2 separate regions of the Homo sapiens genome follow, and region 2 is linked to region 1. The links are contacts of gene promoters, found by promoter capture Hi-C in human tissues and cell types (Jung and others, 2019). All regions are on one chromosome and are shown on one strand. The core of a region is centred on a gene start or on the middle of the fragment in contact, and the rest is flanking DNA. Distances in the headings are between cores, read along the strand shown.

What was found. Contacts are between HindIII fragments. The study calls those that stand out against the background at their distance.
Region 2: a contact is called between a fragment that was not itself captured here and the fragment with the promoter of BBC3 in region 1, in 3 of the 25 tissues and cell types used here (liver, neural progenitor cells and psoas muscle).

Annotation. Positions count from the first base shown.
Region 1 is chr19:47,229,044-47,233,006 of GRCh38, forward strand. It overlaps BBC3 (BCL2 binding component 3), which reads right to left and starts at 2,156. Exons shown (of 4, transcript NM_014417.5): 1 at 1,886-2,156. RefSeq lists silencers at 1,314-2,033, 2,174-2,403 and enhancers at 2,544-2,663, 3,373-3,963, 3,423-3,692. The HindIII fragment of the contact is 48,720 bases long and covers 1-3,963 here.
Region 2 is chr19:47,279,241-47,283,203 of GRCh38, forward strand. No RefSeq gene overlaps it. Among named protein-coding and RNA genes, the nearest start is that of INAFM1, 6.3 kb to the left of the region's middle. The HindIII fragment of the contact is 9,963 bases long and covers 1-3,963 here.

The sequences.
Region 1 (3,963 bases), core at 906-3,405:
AGCACTCTACATACTGCGCACACTGGCTGGCACAATCCATCCCCACACATCCAAACTGTCAAAGTCTCACACACTGACCCACTGTTGATATGCCCAGGGGCACATGCAAACACAATGCAGCCTTTGCAAACACAAACACACACACACAAGCTAGGCACTGCCTCAGTTCCCAAACATGCCCCTCTCCACACACACACACTCACTCCAGAGATAAGACCTGCACACCTCTGGACTCACATATCAACACAAAACAGACACCCACGGACACACATACATCAACACCCCCAAAACACACCCACATGTCACCAACTCTCAGGACACACGTAGATCAGGCACACACAGACACATGCCATCAGACCTCAACACACCACCAGACACCAACCCACCCTCCTCACGCAACCCTCAAACATCATCACCAACTGTCAGCAACACACACACACACACACCCTACAGCTAACTCTAATCCCACACAGCCCAGCAGCACACACACCTAGCGCACCCACAGAAAACACTGGTCTCACGTGACTGACATAAACACTACACACACGCAGCCCACATGACACACATGAGCCAGCCGATCACAGTGACAAGCCCCTCAGACCCAACACACACACACACACACAGGCTCAGACACAACCCCATCCAGAGGCTGCCAGCAACACCCACCGTCTACACTGCATAGACCCCACAGATCCTGGGTCCTCAAATCCCAGACGCTGATGCCAGACACACAAGCCAAACCCAGACTGAAACAACCCCCCACCACACACATACATACACACACACACTCACACCTGACAACTCACACAGACACCTGGACAGAAAACAGACATTTGCATTTAGCAGGCGCAGCATCACAAACGCTGGGCAAAAGACACATGCCCCGGAGATACAGAGACGGCCTCAGCCAAGACAGAAACACACAGGCAAGACACAAGCACACATATCGCACGCTCGGGCAAGACACACACATAAACACACAAACAGCTCACTCCAGCAACACACACACACTACAACCTCCACACCCCAGCACACGCAGGCACCACAGACCCCCAGTATCATCCCGGAACAGCACACACAGACAACTCTCACCGACAACACACGCAGGTCCACCCACCCCACAAGCAGGGCACCCACAGACAGAACCCCACACAAACAGGCGCGGGGACTCACGCAGACACCCCGACGGGTCAGAAACCCCAACATTCCTCTGGATCGACACCACCACTCCCTGCAGAACCCAGCACAAACTCGGAGCCAGACACGCGCACACACCCAGGCGAGACACCTGCAGATCCACAACCCCGCACACGCGCGCTCCCACGGCGGTCCCAGACACCCCCCTCCGCTGTCACAGCCCCCCCCACCGCCGCCACGTGCGCCCGCCCCGCCCGCCAGGCGAGCGCGGGGCCAATAACCGGCTGTTGCTGGGGCGCAGCCCCCGCCCGCAGGAGCCGCAGACTCCACGGCCCGCGAGCCGCCCCCCGTCGCCGCCCCCAGCGGGCGCGCGCCCTGGGTGTGGCCGCCCCTCCGTGCCGCCCCCCCGCCCCTCCCGGACTTTGGGGGCTGGGGCACCCCTGGGGTCGACCCTCTTCCCCGGGGCCGCACTGGCCGCCAGGGGGCGCTGCCGAGCCCGCACCCCATTGTTTGTAAACAAACCCGCCAGACCGCCGAGGCACCTGTGCGCCCAGACCGGCGCCCCAACGCCGAGCCGCCTCTCACCCGGCGACCCTGGCCCAGGGTCCCTCGCGGGGTTTGGAGAGGCGCGGTGTGGGGAGGCAGGGCGCCCACACTGCTCTCCGCCTGCACTCCTGTCACCTCCTCCAGGGAGTCCACCCGGCCTGGCCGATCGCCGCCGGAGAGGATTCGGGGCGCGCACACTCACCCCGGGGGCATGAACACGCCGGAGGGGGCGGCGGTGGGGGGCGGGCGGCTTCCTTCAGGAGGGCGCGCCCGCCGAGCGCCGCTCTCCGCGGCGGCTGCTGCTGTGGCTGTCGCTGCTGCTGCCGCTCTAACTGCAGTGGCGGCTGCTGTGGCTGTGGCTGCTGCTGCTCCCCGGGCCGCAGGCGCGTCCGCGTCGTGGCCGCTGCTGGGATCGCTGGTGCCGCCGCCGCCGCCGCCAGGCGCCCGCTCGCATGTGGCTCGCGCCGCGTCTCAGGCCGCCCGGCGGATCCCGGGCCCGCTCCAAAGCCGCCCCGCCCCGCCCCGCCCCGCCCCCGCCCGGCGGGTCCCACGCCCCGCCCCCGCGTGACGCTACGGCCCCGCCCGCCCGCCGCGGACAAGTCAGGACTTGCAGGCGCGCGCCGCGCCCCCCCCTACCTCCGCGCCGGGGGTTTCCCTGCAGCGGGGGACGGGGCAGGGCCTAGCCCAAGGCAAGGAGGACCCAGGCGCTGTGCGGCGGGGTGTGGGGAGATCGCCCAGACACCGGGACAGTCGGACACACACACTGACTGGGACCCACAGATCCACACCCCCAGCGATGCGTACACAGACCGACCGACGGGCGTTCCAGGGTCCACAAAGTCACGTGCAGGCAGAGCCCAGAGGATGTACTCACAGACACAAGGCCACAGTCTCGCAAATCCACACCATGGACAGGGGCATGAGCACACACACTCACATACTGATGGGGCTCACACTTACACACACCCAGACGGAAATGCACAGACTCACTAACAGGGTCCCCTGGACAAGCAGACGGACACAATGACAGGGCCACACACAGTTGCAGAAACACCCACACTGATGATCACACCTGGGCCCACAAACTGTGTTCACAAACAACCCTACCGAACAGGCACCCACACCACACACACGGTGGTGCAACCACACAGACATAGGCGGAGTGCTTATCAGGAAACACAAACTTGCTGATAGGCACAGGGGACACACACATACACACAGACACCTGTTACAGGGATACCTGGATACACGGCCAAATCCAAATCACACTCCCACAGGGACATACACAAATGCACTCACACAATTTCACAGCTAACACATTAAAACTATCAGAAAGTGACATTCGCCCGACACGGTGGCTCATGCCTGTAATCCCAGCACTTTGGGAGGCCAAGGTGCGTGGACTGCCTGAGGTCAGGAATTCGAGACCAGCCTGACCAACATGATGAAACCCCATCTCTACTAAAAATACAAAATTAGCCGGGCGTTGTGGCGCATGCCTGTAATCCCAGCTACTTGGGAGGCTGAGGCAGGAGAACTGCTTGAACCCGGGAGGCGGAGGTTGCAGTGAGCCGAGATAGTGCCATTGCACTCTAGCCTGGGCAACAAGAGCAAACTCCGTCTTAAAAATAAAAATAAAGGAAAGAAACTGACATTCAGAGACACAAACCAAATCAGACATAGAAGAAACTGACCACCCACACATGTCACAAAGTCACACCTGTGACAGCTTCTTGCTAACTGGCCCACTGCACACACGTCGGAGCATGCACACCTGGCCACACTCACCACAAATCTGGCAGGGGACCCACGTCGTGGAAGCAGCCCTGGGCACCTGGCATGGACATGCCTGGGCAGACCCCATGCCAAATTTCATCCTGTCTCATAGCTTTCCATTCCGTTTCTTTTTCAGTTTCTCATTGTTACTTCCTGCCCTGCTCTGGTTTGGTGAGTTTTGTCCTTCCTTTTTCCAAAGCCGTGGATTCCTGTCTCCTCTACACTTTCCATCCTTACTGGGTCTCACCCAATCGCAATCGCCTCACCAGAGTGACTCACCTTCCAGTGCCTAGTGTGGGGCTGGCTGAGTAAGGATGTCAGACTTCTCAAACTTGACTGCCTCCAAGTACACACTCTTAGCTCCCCCAAGAGATGCAGGTAATCTATATCTCACGTGAAATCTCCCCATTTGCAACATTGGGAACTCCTCAGCTTTCCTCCCTCTTTCACTTTCCCTCCTCTTTCGCTTTCCCCGATTATTCATTGTCCCTTCCTTCTTCCTGG
Region 2 (3,963 bases), core at 976-3,475, 50 kb after region 1:
GCTGTGACTGTACCACCGCACTCCAGCCTGGGCAAGAGAGCAAGACCCTGTCTCAAAAAAAAAAAAATTCCTGCTCTCAATGGAACTGAATATTAGTGGGAACACAGACAAGAAATTCAGTTAATAGCCGGGTGCGGTGGCTCATGCCTGTAATCCCAGCACTTTGAGAGACCTAGGAGGGCGGATCACCTGAAGTCAGGAGTTCCAGACCAGCCTGGCCAACATGGTGAAACCCCGTCTCTACTAAAAATACAAAAATTAGTTGGGCGTGGTGGTGGGTGCCTGTAATCACATCTACTTGGGAGGCTGAGGCAGGAGAATTGCTTGAATCCAGGATGGGGAAGTTGCAGTGAGCCAAGGTTGCACCACTACATTCCAGCCTGGGTGACAGAGTGAGACTCTGTCTCAAAGAAAAAAAAAAAAAATTCCTGTTCTTAATGGAACTAAATATTAGCGGGGACAAAGACAAGAAATGTGATTCATAACTTTGAGTGAAAGCAGGGTAAGGGTGATGGGGATGATGGAGGGTGTGGTTACTGGGTAGAAGCCCAAGACTGGTGAGGGTGAGGCTGGCAGGTCTCTGGGGGCTGAGGGAACAGTAAGTGCAAAAACCTTCGGGGTGGTGTGCCTGGCTTGTTGAAGGAATAGCGAAGAGGCCAGAGTGGCTGAAGCAAGAGGGAGTGGGGAGAGCAAGAGGAGGAGGTGAGGCAAGAGAGGACAGGCAGCTTGATCAGGGCCTCATGGACCACAGAATGCAATTTTTTTTTTTTTTTTGAGACAGTCTTACTCTGTCACCTAGGCTGGAGTGCAGTGGCGCGATCTCGGCTCACTGCAACCTTCATCTCCCTGGTTCAAGTGATTCTCTCGAGTCTCAGCCTCCTGAGTAGTTGGGATTTCAGGCACGTGCCACCACACCCAGGTAATTTTTGTATTTTTAGTAGAGACAGGGTTTCGCCATGTTGCTAAAGCTGGTCTCAAACTCCTAACCTCAAGTGATCCACCCGCCTCAGCCTCCCAGAGTGCGGGGATTGCAGGCGTGAGCCACTGTGCCCGGCCACAATGTGCACTTTGGATGAGGTGGGAGCCATGGGAGGCTTCTGAGGTGAGGAGGGTGTGCGCTGATTCAGATCTCAAGACCTTCTGACTGCGATGTGGAGAATGGACTGCAGGGGGCGATGGTGGAAGCCAGGAGCCCAATGAGGACACCACCGCCCTGGTTCAGGTGAGAGACCATGGTGGCTGTGCTAGAGTGTTGGCTGGGGAGGAGGGGAGAAGTGGTCAAAAATCCGTGTGTGGGCTGGGTGCAGAGGCTCACACCTGCGATCACCTCCCAGCACCCTGGGAGGCCAAGGCAGGAATATCACTTGGGCCCAGGCGTTCAAGCCCAACCTGGGCAACATAGTGAGACCCCGTCTCTACAAAATAAAAATAAACTTTTTTTTTTAAAATGAAAAAAGTAAAAGCAAGGCATGGTGGCTCATACCTGCAATCCCAGCATTTTGGGAGGCTGAGGCTGGAGAAATGTTTGAGCTCAGGAGTTCAAGACTAGCCTGGGCAACATAGCGAGACCCCATCTGTACACTAAATAAAAAATCAGCCAGGCGTGATGGCTTGTGCCTGTAGTCCCAGCTATTCTGGAGGCTGAGGCAGGAGGATTGCTTGAGTTAAGGAGTTGAGGCTGCAGTGAGCTGTGATTGTATCACTGCACTCCAGTCTGGGTGACAGAGTGAGACCTTGTCTCAAAAAAAAAAAAGTGTGTGTGTTGTGTGTGTATACTGATAAAAATACACATAGCATAAAGGTTACCATTTTAATCATCTTACCATCTTTTTTTTTTTTTTTGAGACAGAGTCTTGCTCTGCCACCCAGGCTGGAGTGCAGTGGGGCGATCTCTGCTCACTGCAACCTCCACCTCCCAGGTTCAAGTGATTCTCCTGCCTCAGCCTCCTAAGTAGCTGGGATTACAGGTATGTGCCACCATGCCCGGTTAATTTTTGTATTTTTAGTAGAGACGAGGCTTCACCATATTGGCCAGGCTGGTCTCAAACTCCTGACCTCAGGTGATCCACTGCCTCGGCCTCCCAAAGTGCTGGGATTACAGGCATGAGCCACTGTGCCTGGCCCATTTTAACTGCTTTAAAGTGCACAGTTTCGTGGCACTAAGTACATTTACAGTGTTGTGCAACCATCACCACCATTCATCTTTAAAATGTTTTCGTCTTCCCAAAATGAAACCCCGTACCCATTAAACACCATCTCCCCATTCCCCCTCCCCTCAGCCCCTGGCGAGCACTCATCTACTTTCTGTCTATATAAATATGCCTGTTCTGGACATTTTATATAAAAGCAATCATAACATACAGGGCCTTTTGTGTCTGGCTTATTTCACTTGAGTCATGTTTTCTTTTCTTTTTTTTTTTTTTGAGATGGAGTCTCGCTCTGTCGCCCAGGCTGGAGTGCAGTGGCGCAATCTCGGCTCACTGTAAGCTCTGCCTCCCGGGTTGATGCCATTCTCCTGCCTCAGCCTCCTGAGTAGCTGGGCCTACAGGTGCTGGCGACCACGCCCGGCTAATTTTTTGTGTTTTTAGTAGAAACGAGGTTTCACTGTGTTAGCCAGGATGGTCTTGATCTCCTGACCTGGTGATCCGCCCGCCTTGGCCTCCCAAAGTGTTGGGATTACAGGCGTGAGCCACCGCACCACCGCACCCGGCCGCAGCGTCCTGTTGTCAAGGCTTTTCTGGGTGAAAGCAAGTATCAGTGCTTCATTCCTTGTTTTTTTTTTTCTTTTTTCTTTTTTGAGACGGAGTGTTGCTCTGTCACCAGGCTGGAGTGCAGTGGTGCAATCTCGGCTTACTGCAACCTCTGCCTCCCAGGTTCAAGTGATTCTTCTGCCTCAGCTTCCCTAGTAGCTGAGACTACAGGCGCATGCCACCACGCCCAGCTAGTTTTTTTGTGTGTTTTTAGTAGAGACGGGGTTTCACCATGTTAGCCAGGCTGGTCTCAATCTCTTGACCTCAAGATCCACCTGCCTCGGCCTCCCAAAGTGCTGGGATTACAGGGGTGAGCCACCGTGCCCGCCTGCTTCATTCCTTTTTATGGCTAAATAACATTCCATTGGCCGGGCGCAGTGGCTCATGCCTGTAATTCCAGCACTTTGGGAGGCCGAGGTGCGTGGATCACCTGAGGTCAGAAGTTCAAGACCAGCCTGGCCAACATGGTGAAACCCAGTATCTACTAAAAACACAAAAATTAGCCAGGTGTAATGGTGCACACCTGTAATCCCAGCTATTCAGGAAGCTGAGACAGGAGAATTGCTTGAACCAGGAGGTGTAGGTTGCAGTGAGCTGAGATCGCACCACTGCACTCCAGCCTGGGCGACAGAGTGAGACTCTGTCTCCAAAAAAAATTTCCATTGTATGGATAGGCCACATTTTGCACATTTTGTTTATCCGTTCATTTGTTGATAGACAGTTGGGTTGCTTCCACCTTCTGGCTATTGTGAATAGTGCTGCTGTGAGCATGCATGTACAATATTTTGTTTGAACTTTTTTTTGGGCAGAGTCTCGCTCTGTTGCCCAGGCTGGAGTTCAGTGATGCAGTCATAGCTCACTGCAGCCTCCAACTCCTGGGCTCAAACAGTCCTCCTGCCTCAGCCTCCTGAGGAGCTGGGACTACAGGTGTGCGCCACCATGCCTGGCTAAATTTTTATTTTTTTGTAGAGACAGGATCTCCCTATGTTGTCCAGGCTGGTTTTGAATTCCAGGGCTCAAGTGATCCTCCTGTCTTGGCCTCCCAAAGTGTAAGAGATTACAGGCATGAGCTACCATGCCCCGCCTGATAATCTGTGTTTCATTTATGGAGGAACTACCAAACAAAATCTGTATATATATATATATTTTTTGGGACGGAGTTTGGCTCTTGTTGCCCAGGCTGGAGTGCAATGGTGCGATCTGGGCTCACTGC